Linked DNA regions of Homo sapiens: regions 2, 3 and 4 are each linked to region 1. The links are contacts of gene promoters, found by promoter capture Hi-C in human tissues and cell types (Jung and others, 2019). All regions are on one chromosome and are shown on one strand. Each heading gives the region's core, a stretch centred on a gene start or on the middle of the fragment in contact. The rest is flanking DNA. Distances are from core to core; before and after follow the strand shown.

Region 1 (3,735 bases), core at 182-2,681:
CCGTCTCTACTAAAATACAAAAATCAGCGAGGCGTGGTGGCGCCCGCCTGTAATCCCAGTTACTCGGGAGGCTGAGGCAGGAGAATCGCTTTAAACCGGGAGGCGGAGGTTGCAGAGCCAAGATCGGGCCATTGCACTCCAGCCTCGGTGACAAAATATAATAATAATAAAATTAAAAAGGGCTTAGCATAGTATCTGGCCAGTAAGAAGAAATTATGATTATTATTTTGACCTTAGACCTCTCTTAACTGTCTGAAATTCGGGTTTCTTAAAGGACACAGGCGGTCTCTGAGGCTCCCGCCAGCGGAAACAATCTCCCATTAAAATAGGCATCGGTTAAATATTTGCTGAACAAAGTAAACTACGTCTCCCCGAATCCCATTGAGCGCCTACTCGAGATCCGGACCGGAGCCGGGCAGGACGGGCCCGTCGGTCCCACACGCCGTATAAGTGGGTGGAGAATACCCCACACGCCCAGACCAATAGGCGGGGTGAACGAGGACCGTGTTCACCAACTCAGCCCGGCTCGCGGAATGCCTTCTGTTCGCCTCCGGGCTTGCAGTGGCTTTCCGTCGCAGGTCAGGCCGCGTTCCACTTCCGCCGGCAGTCCAGACACGCCCCTCCGGGTCCAATCCCCGCCCCTCACACACCTGGCCCCGCCCCGTCGGGAGCTCGGCGGTCCTCTCTGCGCTAGGTCTTCTTAGCGCCCGACGGGGCCACGCCCATCCCCGACGCTCTGAGGTCACCTACAGGGCCGACCCTCGGTGGGCGGAGGGACGGAGGGAAGATGGCTGCAGAGACCGGATATTGGCGCTGCCTCCCCGAATCCCGGACCTGCGCTGAGGAGGCGGTTCATCTGTGGCCAGCGGTGCTTCGGGACCCGCGCTGGGGGAACCCTGGCGACGGGGCCTGGCCCTGCTATATGCGGGGGCCTCGGCTGGAGTGAGCGGCGTGGACGCCTCTTTCCTCCGGCTCTTCCCTTGTTGCTGCGAGAGCGAGAGGGCCGCGGGCGGCGGAGGCAGCGGGGCCGGGATGGAGGACGTTAACTCTAACGTGAACGCGGACCAGGAGGTGCGGAAGCTGCAGGTGCCGGTGAAGAAGCTGGGGAAGCAGCACGAACAGCCGAGGAGCCGCTCGCGCTGTGCTGGGCCCCGGCTCCATCGCGGTTCGCCGGCTCCTCCACTCCCTCCTACGGCGCGGGGTCCCCTCGGGGCTTCCCCTTGGGTCTCAGCGCAAAGTCGGGCGGCGGGGCCGGATGGACCCGAGGCGGACGAATAACGAGGAGCTGCGAGACGCCACCTTCTTGCTGGCGGCGGGGGAGGGCGGCTTGCTAGACGACCTGGAGCGTCTGTCAGGCTAGGAGGAGGGGGAGGAGAGCTGGTGAGCGCCGGGCGCCGGGCGGGGCTGGGCGGGGACGCCCCGGTGGCGGAGGACGTCCCGGAGGATCCCTCTGGTCGGGCGCCTGGCTTTGTGTAGCCAGCCAGGTCCGCTCTCGGCGGGTACTCGTGGTCTTGCTCTGGCAGAGGGGAGGTCAGTTGGAGTTGGGGGTTCGAGGCTTGCAAGTACAGGGCTTGTAGCTCCTTCTCTGGATTGTGGACCCTCTGGGTGCTGGGCCCTATTGGGGTTGGTGGGTTGGTTGGATCCAGAAGGGCTGTTCGCCGTGGGGAGGAGTCGGAGGTGGGAAACTGCTTTGTAGGCAGGGATTCTGCTTTGTATAGGAGACCAGCTTTCGGATGCTGGTCTGGGCATTTTGGATGTTGGGGAGGGGTTTGGCTTGATGAGGTATCACCAAGTTCGGGGGGTGCAGACCAAAGTCGCCGACGTCTATGCAGCGGTTGGTGTTTGGGATCAATTTCTAGCGTGGATGGGGAGACCATGTGGATCAGCACTCCCCTTTAGGTAGTGGGGTAAAGCTTGCTCTGTGTGAAGAGGTCAGAGGATGGTGGTGTTTTGTGTGAAGAATCAAGGGTGAAACAAGAGCCCTGGCTCTGATATTTTAAAACAAGAATTGAGTCTGGCATTTTGCAGAGCTCTGAATTGACATTTATCACATCTATCCTTCATTTCCATGTCCTCCTATGGGCAGAAAAGAGTCCTATTTTAATACCTAAACCAAAGCTGTATTGTCATAAGCCACTTCTTGATGAAATTGTGACACACACCTTAATATCACTTTCATAAATAGGAAATGGGAGGCTTTTCTCCTCATTTTATTATAAAGATGTCTGTGGGAAATTCTCTTAATTCATCCTCTTTAAAATTTTACCTTTTAGCTAAAATGTCTCTGTTGAAATTCAAATTTCTAACTTAGTGAAATCGAAATCATTCATAGACTGTAGTATTGCAGGGCTCGAACTGTGCAGTGTTCTGAGGTAGTTAAGAGCTTTGCTGGATTCAGGCCCTGGGTTTGCCCAGGCCTGTATGACCTTGAGCAAGTTATTCTGAGCTTCACTTTCTTCCTCTATGATGGAGAAAATAATGATAGCACTTACCTCTATAGAGTTATGAAAATTTAGTAAGATAATCCATGTATGCATTTAGCACTGTTGAGATCTTGGCTTACTGCAAGCTCCGCCTCCTGGGTTCACACCGTTCTCCTGCCTCAGCCTCCCGAGTAGTTGGGACTACAGGCACTGGCCACCACTCCCTGCTAATTTTTTGTTTTCGTATTTTTAGAAGAGACGGGTTTCACCGTGTTAGCCAGGATGGCCTCGATCTGACCTCGTGATCCTCCCGCCTCGGCCTTCCAAAGAGCTGGGATTACAGGCATGAGCCACCATGCCCAGCCTATTACTCTTAAGCCTAGTTATTTAAATCAAACATTTAGTGAGCTCTTACATGATGTTATAGGAGACTCTGAAGATTCTCAACTGTTGATTCCTGTTCATAAGGCAGTTATAGTCTTGTTGAGAACTAAGTTTTATGCAGATAAATAAACTAGAAAGTGTATGGTGAATTGCCGAAAGAGAGAACAAAAGTACTGTCAGTGCGCAGTAACTGGGAAGAAAACAGTAGTCCAAAGTAGAGGGGCCAAACTTTGAGGAGGAGGCTTTGGAGTCTGGAAGTGAGGAAAGAGTGGGAAGGGCATTTTATGCTCTGACAGCTACAAGAGCAGAGTCAGAGATATTTGTAACTCCCAGTTAGGAGATTTGAATAACAGAAGTACTCTTGAGTATATGGTGACAAACCTTTATTTTTTATTTACTATTTTTTTTTTTTTTTGAGACGGAGTCTCGCTCTGTTGCCCTGGCTGGAGTGCAGTGGCATGATCTCAGCTCACTGCAACCTCCGCCTCCCAGGTTCAAGCAATTCTTCTGCCCCAGCCTCCCAAGTAGCTGGGACTGCAGGTGCCCACCCCCATGCCCAGCTAATTTTTGTGTTTTTAGTAGAGATGGAGTTTCACCATACTGGCCAGGCTGGTCTCGAACTCCAGACCTCGTGATCTGCCCGCCTTGGCCTCCCAAAGTGCTGCGTGAGCCACCGCACCCAGCCGACAAACCTTTATTACCAGGTGATATCAAATATTATTAGAGCTGACTGTGGTAGTGACAGTTTTTCATATAAATGAAATTGCATCCTCCCAAAGGAATCCTGAGTATGTATGCACTTTAAAAGAACCCAGAATCATCTAAATATTGTCACATGGCTCTTGCAAGTGATGATAATAGTGATGCTTATAATAATGAGGATTAGCTGCACTCATCAGCCTGTAGAAAGTAAAAAGTTTCCTTTTCG
Region 2 (3,735 bases), core at 640-3,139, 500 kb after region 1:
TCTAGCATTTAAATGGAGGGTTCTACTTAAATTTAATATTTGAACCCAGAAACATGGACGGTTTCCATCTTACAGGATCGGAGGTTGATTATGAAACCTAATAAATTGATGAGGTCCATGTGATCCAGTCTCAATAAGTGTCCTATTCAATGAAACATAGTCCAGCAGCCAAGAGAAATGTATCATTAATCAAATCCTTCATTTGAACTTCTTAGAGACTAACATCCTCCTCTCTCTCTAAGCCCTTCTTATCTCAGCTGCTTTAAAGCTCCTCTTTCTCCAGTGCCCCCCAAATTCTCTCTAAATACATAACACACATCTTTCTTCATCTCTCCTTTCCTACCTCCTCTCTACTTTTCTGCATTGTGTAGAGCTATGCATTTTCTCTCTCCTGTCTTTAGGGGAGGGAAGGGGAAAGGAAAACTGTGGGCAAAATCAGAATTCTCTTTAGTGATAGAGGTAGGGGAGAAGACTGTGACCACTGACACATTAATACTTTTTAATCCATCATAATCAGATCTCCTGTGGTACATTTTAGATGTATTGAACTATTAGAAAAGGGCACTGGATATAGCATCATTATATAAAGATTTTGTCTCCAGCTCACCTACTATCTAGGTAAACTTGAGATAGTTTCTTAACCTCTCTTGAGCTTCAGTTTTATCATCTATAAAAGTGTAATAAGAGATTTCATAGAGTTTTTGGGAAGATGAGATAAATGGAAAGTGGAAGCCTCATAACAGGTATTCCGCAAAAGTTTGTGACTGAAAATGGCAGGCTGAAAGAAAAAACAAAAGGAAGGAAGAAAAGGGAGGGAAGGAGGGAAGGAGGAAGGAGGGAGGGAGGGGGAAGAAAGGAGGGAAAGAGGGAGGGAAGGAGGGAGGGAGGAAAGGGGAAGAAAGGAAGGAAAGAATGAAGGAAGGAGGGAGGGAGGGAGAGAGGGAGAGGAGGGAGGGAAGGGGAAGAAAGAAGAAAAGGAGGCAAGGAGGGATGGGGGAGGTAGAGGAGGGAGGGAGGAAGGAAGGGAGAGAAGAAGGAAGGAGGGAGGGAGGGAGAGAGGGAGAAGAAAGGAAGGAGGGAAGGAGGGAGGGAGAGGAGGGAGGGAGGGGGAATAAAGGAAGGAAAGAAGGGAAGAAGAGAGGGAGGGGAGGGAGGGAGGAAGGAAGGAGGGAGAGAAGGAAGGAAGGAAGGAAGGACTTTCATCTTGGCATCTAGGCATAAGCTTGAATGTACCAGTGAACAAGGAATTGGGCACGGGAAAACTGTTTCCTCCTCTGGGCTGAAAGGCTGAGCTGTAATCTCCTTTTGGATCCTGAGAGAAGATGTTGCTTTGCTGGCCGACAAAACGGCAAGCAGTACACATTTTTACAATCATGTCATTGGCATGGGTACCCCGTGATTAGTGCTTAGCAGCTCCCTCTCTGATTCTCCTCTGAGCTGCCCAAGAATCCTGTATCTGTATTTCTCCTGGGTACTCCAGGGTTGTCACCTGCCAGGACAGCACTTAGTGACTTCACCCTGAACCCAGAGTTTTTTAGATCTCATTCTATTAAGCCTCAGTTGTCCTGTATCTTATATAAGCACTTAAAAGGATATATGTCATGCACAAATAAATCTCAGAGATCATTTAAGATATAATTTTCAGGCAGTAGAACAGTAGCTTCTAACCTCTACTTCACTTCCTAGGGAAACACTTTTTGATATAATATCTGTTCCCAGAGGAATTCCACGAGTGGCAGGACTTTAGCTACAACAATAGGTTTATGAGACACAAATTTGGAGTGAAGTGGAATATAGAGCCACTCCCCAGCTCTTAACACTTTGTTGTGAGTTAAATGGGTAGAGATTGATAGTAGCAGATTGCCAATCATAAAAATGAGATCCAGAAGGAATGGTAAACTTCTGATTTTTTAACTTTTATTTTAGGTTCAGGGGTACATATGCAGGTTTGTTATATAGGTAAACTCGTGTCATGAGGGTTTGTTGTACAGATTATTTTGTCATCCAGGTATTAGGCCTAGTACTCATTATTTTTCCTGATCCTCTACCTCCTCCCATCCTCCACCCTCCAGTAGGCCCCAGCCTCCATTGTTCCCTTCTTCGTGTCCATGAGTTCTCATCATTTAGCTCCCATTTATAAGTGAGAACATGCATTATTTGGTTTTCTGTTCCCACATTAGTTTGCTAAGGATAATGGCCTTCAGCTCCATCCATGTCCCTGCAAAGGACATGATCTTGTTTTTTCATGGCTGCATAGTATTCCATGGTGCATATGTACCACATTTTTTTATCCAGTCTACTATTGATGGGCATTTAGGTTGATTTCATGTCTTTGCTATTGTGAATAGTGCTGCAATGAACATACGTGTGCATGTGTCTTTATGGTAGAACTATTTATTTGCCTTTGGGTCTATACCCAATAATGGATTGCTGGGACAAATGGTAGGAATTATAAACTTCTAAGTGATGCTGTGAATTATAAATGAATCTGAAACTAGAACTGAGTTCTTCTGAATGCAGCCCAGTGCTCACAAAGGGTTACTTCCTAAATTTCCTAAAATACGGCCTGGAGTTCAGAGCATCTCTATGCTGTCTAGGAGCTTCCTTGAGTCAGGCTGGAGACTAGGGGCCTCTCTAGACGAAGGTGAGTATAGCAGTACCCATGGTCCCCTTCAGAAGGCTGGTCCCAGGGAGCCAGGCTGAGCATACTACAGCTTGAGTTAATCCATGCTCCACTGAATTCTACTCTCCTGCTTTGCAAATGGCCTTTCCAAGCAGAGGCTGCTGTGGTGGCCTGTTTGGCAGATGCAGAGGATATTCGTTTTTTGTTATTTGGCTGCCCAGATTCCAAATTCTCTCCCTATTTCAATGGAAGCTGCCATAGTGAAATTTCAAGAGCCTCTCTTCTCCTGAACCTTGACAGCATGGGCACGGGCAAGTGGCCCGAGCTTGGCCAACCCAATGCTTTTGCCTGAGGCTGTGAATCTGAAGCCAGGGACGATGTGAAAGAATCTGGTGACAGTCTGAAAATCGTCCCACCCCTAGTGGTAGTGGCATCCAGGGTACAATGGTCTGAGTCCAGTAGTGGGAGCAACAGAGCCTAAACAGCCTCTTCCTGTGGCACGACCTTGGCAGTGATTCCAGCCCCCCAACTCCCCCAGTTTCCTTCAGTTCCTGCATGCATATTTTCCGATACTGATTCTCTGGCCCCACCACTGATTCTGTCAGCTCCTGATATCCGTTCAGTAGATTCCTTCACTCTCCAAGCACGCCAGAGTCAGTGTCTGATGTTGGCAACCCAGAGTCCTGACTGGTGCATGAGAGATTGGCTTTTGACTCTTGGAAATGATCATGCCCTGGAAGTCCCAGACAGGACAGCTGCGTTGAGATCCAGCTCCGAGTGTCCAGCCATGATGAAACAGAACTCACCAGGCCACAAGAGCTTCCTGATGCTTCCCTCTCCTCTGCAGGATACAGGGCCTATTGTACAACACAGGGGCTAAAGTGTGGTGTACTGACCAAGGAGGCAGGAGGCTTGGGTTCCAGGCCCGGCTCTCTCGTGTCTGGCTCTGGTACCTTGGCCAAGGCACTGCAGTCTCTGGACTTCTGTTTCCTCAGCTGTCGAATGAAGAGGCTACACCATATGTTTCCTAGAGACCTTTGCCACTCCAATGCTCAAGGATTCCTGGATGTCTGGGGAAGAGTCCCCAGTCATCCTGGCTGCCAATTTTTACC
Region 3 (3,735 bases), core at 881-3,380, 320 kb after region 1:
GATCTCTCCATCGTTGGGGCTTACTTATAGTGAAAGTGTCCCTAGCCCAGGGATCTTTTATTCTACTTTGCCCTCTTCCCATGAATCAAGAACAGTATCTTTTATTTATTTATTTTTTAAAATTCACTGAGCTTTTGCCACATGCTAGACACTGCGAGGTGAAACACAGAACTGGCCCTCAAGATGTCCCACAGCTGGTGGAAAGGTGACTCCTACACAGAACTAGCTATAGGCAAGTTTGAACATGATAATGTCATGGGAAACACAGATAAATGTGTGCAGGTCAGAAGAGAGATCTTAATTCAGGTTATCAGGGGTCAGGAACATGTACTAAAATAATGTTGGAGAAATAGACTACACAGGTCGCGGGAGCCTTGAAAGCCAGATTAGGAACTTGGACTTTATTTTATAACTTGAAAGGGGGAACCAGTGTAATTTTCTGAGCATTGGAGTGGCAGAATTAGTTATATGAGTTTCATTAGGTGTAAATTGAGGGAAATCACTGAGCCGTAGACCAATCTGGTGCTTTTTCTGAAACCTAAGCTCTCTTCCAGGAAGATTGAAGTTAGTGACAGATGGAATTTCTGAGCACTGCAAAGGAGATAATATATGCAAAATGCACAATGCCTGGCACATAGTAGGTCTTCAATGGCAATTCATTTCTCCACGTTTCTTTCTAGTTATCACAAGGAAACTTTCAAGGAAAAACAAATGTGTGTTATATAGAGAGGCAGTATGGTATAGTGATTAGAAGTGCCACTTGAGTTTCCAACAGATTCCTGGGTTTAAATGCTGCTGTACAGCTGTTCACTGCTATGTGACCTTCAGCAAGTTGGTTTTCTACTCTGACTCTGCATGCTCATTTCTAAAAGGGGAATGATGCCTTCATTATTGGAGTATTTGAGTGTTAAAAGTGCTAATGTATATGAAATGCTTAGCACAGCACCTGTCACACACTAGGCATTCAACACATATTATCTGTTACTAAAAATAAACATTAGTCTTCCCAGTGGAATTCTTTCCTGTCTTTGGTCAGTAGGCCAGTCAAAAGAGAGGGAAGATTGCATTAAAGATTTTGGCTTCCTTAGAGCTTTTTTTTCAAATCTGGATACAAAAGAAACAAGTTAATTTTTTGCCATTGGAATGTGCTCTAACCCAATATTCCCCATTCTTGCTGCCCCTGTTAAGGAGGCAGTCACCATTCTCAGAAATCAGAAAACCTGCTTGTCCTGGCTCTTCTGTCAACAAATATCCACCCCTCTATGGACCTTAGAAACCCCATCTAGCCTTGGTCAGTGGTTTTCAACCTTCATTATAATTATTGTTATTATTTGTAGCAGTAGGAGGTTGCTTCCGTCCTGATCATACATGGCTGCCCAATCTGTACATCTGATGACAGTGGAGATGCTCTGGGGGAGGTGGCGGCTCCAGAGCCCGGAGACTGAGCTGGCCTTGGGAGCAGGTGCACAGCTCCTCCTCCTCACTGTCTCTCTCAATTCCTCTCCAACCATCTTCTCCTTTCCAGCCTGTGGTGTAATCTTAATCAAGTCTACAGCTGGAATATGGGTTCTTTGATTAACAAATGATTTATCCTTCCCATTCTTGTTTATGGCATAAACTCTAGTGATTCTGTGGAACTCACAATCCCGTTCTCACCAATATTGCCTCCATTGGGAATTTCAAAAGTCTAATTTGAAAGTCAAAACTGAGAATTGACGTTTTTTCTCTCTGTTGCTCAGCTTCTGGATACAGCAAGGGCAGACTGATGAGCTCTGCCTGGAATTACAGGGAGGGTCATGGGGCAAAAGGGAATTATAGGAAATGACCCGCATGTAGGTTACTATCAGAATAGTACTCCAGCACGCGCCCACAGGCCAGGGGCTGGGAAGACAGTGACAAAGAAATAGCCATTGCCCTTGGAATGAAATCACTTCTCTGTGTATCACCATCCCTCCCAACTGCAGCCACTGATTTCCCTGAAAAGTAAACATACCATCTGTAATGGATTGAATCGTGTCCCTCTCCCCCGACAAAAAAAAAGAGATGTTGAAATCCTAACCCTCAATACCTTCCAATGTGACCTCATTTGGAAGTAGGATTACTGCAGATGTAATTAACTAAATTAAAATGAAGTCATGCAGGAGTAGGGTGGCCTCTTAATCCAATATGACGGCTGTCCTTACGCAAAGGAGAGATCTGAACACAGGAGGAGAGGAGACCATGTGATAATGCAGGTAGAGATTGGAAATAGGCAATGACAAGCCACCCAGGATTGGCAGTGACACCAGAGGCTGAGAGAAGAGCATGGAACAGATTCTCCTCTGCAGCCTGGGGAGGGCATGGCCCAGCTGACACCTTGATTTCTGGCCTCCAGAACTGTGAGACAATAAATCTCTGCTGTTTGAAGCTACCTAATTTGTGGCACTTTATTACAGCAGCTGTAGGAAATGGATACACCATCCCCCTTTCCTTCCCTTCCAGCCTCGGTGCCGTTGCTCTTGCTCAGGGACTCACCTGGGCTCTGGATTCCATCCCTCCTGCCTTCTCAGAGACCTCACTCCCTCACACCTTCTGTGTTTTCAACTTAACCTTTCTCTTGACTATTCCTCTTGAGCACAATATGCTCCCACTTCCCTCATCTGGAAAGTTTTCTTTTGCCGCCTTCCCTTTATCCGTGGTCTTCTTTTACCCTTTATTTCAGCATGGTACTTCTAGGAGGAGATGTTTATACATGGGTCCTTTAGTTCACCTATTTGCTTCTTGAGTCGCTTGAATGCAGCTTTTGTGCTCATCACATCTTCCAGAAGACAATGACGTCCTGGATGGCCGGATCCTGTGGCTGCCTTCCTGGACCTCATGAGACACTGGATCTCACTGATTAATCTCCTTGAAGTGCTTTTCTATTTTGACTTATATGGACTCTTGGTTTTCCTCCTATCTCTCAGAGTACTTTTTTTTTTTGGGGGGGGGGCAGGTTTTCACATTTCTTTTCTTCTACTCACAACATAAATACATTTTACGATCTCTCTAAAAGTCCTCCAACAGCTAGACAGAGCAACTCACACATTTAGATTCTGGGGCTCTGAATCAGGGTTGGGGTCTTAACCAAGATGGCCAGGAGAGGGAAAAGACAAGTGAAACAAGCCTACATCATATAAGTCCTTAGAAGCCAGTCTGAAGGGCAGGCGTGGGGCAGAAGAGGAGAGACAAGGATGGGAGCTAGGTGGAATTATCCAACTCCAAGGTCCCAAAGCCAATGATTTCTTTGTCTTTCTGTAGCCACAGTGCCATTCACTAAGTAATTGTTCAATTAATGCATCTTGCTTGTTAAACAAGGTCAACAAGAAGGTGAGGCAGGTCCTTAGTCATGACCAAAAATGAGGCATAAAGGCTACACTCTGCTTTGGTGGCCATGTGCAGTATAGTATAAGTGTAGGTTCAGGTGGCTTAAAGAGGTATGAAGAGCGGGTATCACCAGGGTTCTCTCCTTGACTGTCCTCTTGTCAATGCACACACCTGGGCCAATCTATGTACCTACCGTTGTGGCTTCACCCACTATCTACGACTCTCATTTCCCAAACCGTGGCTCCCAATGTCAGTGTCTGTTGGGCCATTAGAAAAAGGATTCCCTGGTAGAATAAATTTGGGCAGCATGAGCTTAAACAGATGTCTCGCTTGCAGGATTTCTTGGAGTCTTTTATATGCTACAGTACATTGAGGCTCTCCAAGATGGAG
Region 4 (3,735 bases), core at 726-3,225, 260 kb before region 1:
CCCATCTTGCCAGAAACACCTCTGGACTGACTCCTCCTGGTCAGGTAAAGTTTCAAATGAACTCTACTCTCAGTTTCACAGTCATCCATTCATATTCCGAATGGACCACTGGTTAAAAACAGGAAGCATAAATGGAATACAAATTAATAAGGAAGATATAGTGATAACTATGGCCAACCTGCCTTGAGATGCTCATCATCCCGTCTGAAAGCTCCATTCATCTGGTCAAAATGCTTCTAGTCCTTAAAATATCACTGTCAAAAAGAGGAAATTTGACCCTGAAAGTCATTCTTGTCTATTTCATATTATTACACACAGATAGGTTTCAATAAAGTAGATCTCCAAAACTAAAGACCATTAAAGTCACTTGTCATGTGGGGCTGGCAGTGAGCATTTCTGGAGTCGGAGACAGTAAAACAAAGAGGCTCTTGTCGCTGAAGATTAAGGAAAAGTAATTGCCAAGTAAAGCCCAGGCTGGACCCAGAATTAACATCCATGAGTTTGGTTTCTTAAGTGAATCTGATGCCAGGAACGTTTCTGGCTCTTTCTGCCCTGTGTGTGTTTCAGACTCTGGGGCAGGTCCATTGGGTTTTCCCAACATCACCAAGCCCTTTAAGTGCATTAAATGCCCAACAAGGGGATAAGCGTGTGATCTCTACTGATGACACCAGCATTCTCTGGTGCCAGTGGGAACAAGTGGATTAACAATGATTTTAAGTGACCTTTGCCTGTGACCCAGAGATCTCCAGTAAAGCCCTACTGTGCAGAGCACGAGGGCCTTTTATCCATGTGCAGGTGAGGGCTTTGAGAAAAAGATGAGTCACTCCTGTGGGTTGATGCCGGGAGAGAAGGCTTTAGGAACAAGGAGAGAAGGGTTTAGGAACAATCTCAGAACACAGCCTAGAGAGCAGGGGTTTTAGCTGAGTCAACAGAAGCAGATGTAGCCCTGGGAACATAAGCCCCAGGAATTCAGAAAAATCCTGGGGAAGGCTTTGGTCTTCCAAATTCAGAGAAGTGTTTGCATCACTGATCTGGAAAGTAGCATCTGGGAGATCCTGCTGACATCTGCCCTATACAGCATTTCCACTGAAATCAGCAAAGCACTGGAGAATATGGCCCTAGAGCATAGCTCTAGGAAGTAAAGTCCACGGGGAGCAGTTCAGCCTCAGAGCATGATATTTCCCAGCCTGTGTGTAGCAGAGACTACTAATTGTCCCCCAGTATCCATTCTCCCCTTCTTTTAGGGCAATCAAACTAATTTTCACAGGGCAAGCAATGTGTTTAGATGAAAGACTACATTTCCAGGCTTTCTTGTAATGAGGTGTGTCTCATCAATGAAATCTAAGACATGTGTGGTATGGGACTACCAGGAAAGCTGCTTAAAATGACCTAACTCAGGAGGAAGGAGGGCTCTTCTGCCCTTCCATCCTCCCAGTCCTCACCTCTTTGTTGTCTCTTTCTGCTGGCCTGGAACTTAGATGTACTAGTTGGAGCTCCAGCAGCCATTTTGTATCATAATGTAACCCTGAGACTAAAAACCACATACCGACGATGGCAGAGCAGAGGTATCTTTAATGACACTGTGCAGCTGCCACACTAACTCCAGCCTTCCTGACCCCAGGTTGCTTTTATGTAAGGAAGAAATACCAGCCTCCTTGATGTTCTTTAGAAATGATAAGCATATTCCATCCTCAGGGCTTTGCACGGGCTGATTCCTGTGCCTGGAGGACTCTGTCCCCAGATATCCATCTGGCCTGCTCCCCTCACTCCTTCAGCTCTCTAGCAGAAATGTACTATGGGATTAAGGCCTTCTCTAACCACATTAACAATAGCATCCACATCTCCCAATTGTCCATAAAACTTATTACCATCTGTCATACCACATGTCTTTTCCTTATCTGTTTATTGTCTATCTCTTTCCACTCGAATGTAAGCTTCAAATGGGCTATTCTGTTTACTGCTGTGCCTCTCATCCTTAGAACAGTGCTTAACACACAGAAGGTGCTCAATAAAGATTTGTTGAGTGAATGAATGAATGGTGCGATCTGACGGATGGGCTCTGCATCCTCAACTATCCCCCTAGGCCCCGGTATAAGGCTCATCAGGCCCAGGAAAGGTCGCAGGGCATACTCCCCTGCTGTCATCACCAAGGAACTAGGGTAGAACCAGGGCTGCCTGTGTGCAATGGGTTGGGACAGAAGAGATGGGGCAGAGCTCACTCTCCTGACTCTGGTGGGCTTGCAAGAGGTGAAAAGCTAGGTCCTTTTCTGCCATCATCACAGTTCAGGTGCTCACCCATGACTCGGAGGCTCTTCCCAAGGCTTACAGTGTGGAGACGCAGCCACGGGGCCCATGAACCAAGCCTACAACCCATATGTGCTCATCCGTTAGCCCCAAGAAACACTGGACATGCAGGGTGCTGTGATGGGCAGTTTTCTGTATTAATTTGGCTAGACTAAGGTACCCAAATATTTGCTCAAATGCTATTCTACATGTTTCTAAGAAAGTACTTTTTAGGTGAAATAAAACTTAAATCAGTGGAGTAAAGCAGAAGACCCCCACAGTGTGGCTGGGCCTCATCTAATCAGTTGATGGCCTTCACCAAACAATGACTCACTTCCCAGAGGAAGAGGAAATTTTGACAGCAGACTGCTTCAGACTCAAACTGCAGCTCTTCCTTGGGTCTCCAGCCAGCAACCCACCCAGCAGGTTTTGGGCTTGCCACCCTCCAGAATCCCAGAAGCCAATTTGCTTAAAATCAATCAATCAATCAATAAATCGATCTCTTTCTCCTTGGTTCTATTTCTCTGGAGAGCCCTGACTACTACAGGTGCCAGTCTCTTTTCAAATTCCATGGAATACCAGGAGGCCTGGGATGTCTAATAAGAAAATCCCACAAAGACCCCTGACCTCACTAATAAGAGTGAGAAAACATATTAATGAATATCTGGCAGGGAGGCTTTACACACCTTGACCCACTGGATCAAATCACGATCATAAGTGGACACAGCTGCATCTGCGGCAGTGCAGGCCTCAGAGCACAATGGCTTTATTTGTCACTGAATGGCGGACCAGGCCTACAGCCCGAGGGAGGACCCCAGTCACAGGGTTGAAAGGGGTGCTTGAGCCCTTTGTTTCCAGAAGAGCAGAGAAAATCTCATGATGGCAGGAGAGCAGGCAGCACTTTTCCAGCACACTGGCCAAAGCCGATGCGGTAACCATCCCCCTGGCAGTACCCTGGAACAGAGGAGGACAAGGATCAGTCACAAAGTTGCTGGGCTCACCGGAACCAACACCTAGGCAGCGGCAGTGCCCGTCAGCACACAGCTGGCCCGAGGCAGGAAGGTGCCATCAGAATCACACACACATATCTTAAACACAAGAATAACCCTCCACGGAAGCTGGGCAGAGTTGCACGCAGGAGCCCTTGGACTAGAACCCGGGCCCACCCCACAGCCAGGGATCCTCAGAGGCACTGCAAGGCTCAACAGCTTTCCTGTGGCTAATATGGTTTGGCTCTGTCCCCCGCCAAACCTCATTTTGAATTATAGCTCCCATAATTCCCATGTGTTGTGGGAGGTACACAGTGGGAGATAATTGAATCATGGAGCGGTTTCCTCCATACTGTTCTCATGGTAGTGAAGAAGTCTCATGAGATCTGATGTTTTTATAAGCGGTTTCTCCTTTCACTTGGCTCTCATTCTCTCTTGCCTGCCACCATGTAAGACATGCCTT

Evidence for each region. Contacts are between HindIII fragments. The study calls those that stand out against the background at their distance.
Region 2: a fragment that was not itself captured here is called in contact with the fragment with the promoter of ST20-MTHFS in region 1 in 5 of the 25 tissues and cell types used here (H1 embryonic stem cells, IMR-90 fibroblasts, aorta and 2 more).
Region 3: a fragment that was not itself captured here is called in contact with the fragment with the promoter of ST20-MTHFS in region 1 in 1 of the 25 tissues and cell types used here (pancreas).
Region 4: a contact is called between a fragment that was not itself captured here and the fragment with the promoter of ST20-MTHFS in region 1, in 1 of the 25 tissues and cell types used here (lymphoblastoid cells).

What each region holds. Positions count from the first base shown.
Region 1 is chr15:79,920,788-79,924,522 of GRCh38, reverse strand. It overlaps ST20-MTHFS (ST20-MTHFS readthrough), which reads left to right and starts at 1,431. Exons shown (of 4, transcript NM_001199760.2): 1 at 1,431-1,484. ST20 (suppressor of tumorigenicity 20) reads left to right here and starts at 771. Exons shown (of 3, transcript NR_037653.2): 1 at 771-1,071. It overlaps ST20-AS1 (ST20 antisense RNA 1), which reads right to left and starts at 1,752. Exons shown (of 1, transcript NR_028330.1): 1 at 1-1,752. RefSeq lists enhancers at 1-192, 394-443, 874-1,053 and silencers at 584-733, 1,354-1,403, 1,414-1,483, 1,504-1,613. The HindIII fragment of the contact is 9,290 bases long and covers 1-3,735 here.
Region 2 is chr15:79,425,600-79,429,334 of GRCh38, reverse strand. It overlaps a transcript of MINAR1 not described here. Among named protein-coding and RNA genes, the nearest start is that of MINAR1, 4.9 kb to the left of the region's middle. The HindIII fragment of the contact is 7,124 bases long and covers 1-3,735 here.
Region 3 is chr15:79,600,102-79,603,836 of GRCh38, reverse strand. No RefSeq gene overlaps it. Among named protein-coding and RNA genes, the nearest start is that of TRC-GCA5-1, 140 kb to the left of the region's middle. The HindIII fragment of the contact is 8,440 bases long and covers 1-3,735 here.
Region 4 is chr15:80,185,632-80,189,366 of GRCh38, reverse strand. It overlaps FAH (fumarylacetoacetate hydrolase), which reads right to left. Exons shown (of 14, transcript NM_000137.4): 14 at 3,018-3,237. The coding sequence ends at 3,158. Among named protein-coding and RNA genes, the nearest start is that of FAH, 34 kb to the right of the region's middle. RefSeq lists enhancers at 1-34, 2,700-3,200. The HindIII fragment of the contact is 5,416 bases long and covers 1-3,735 here.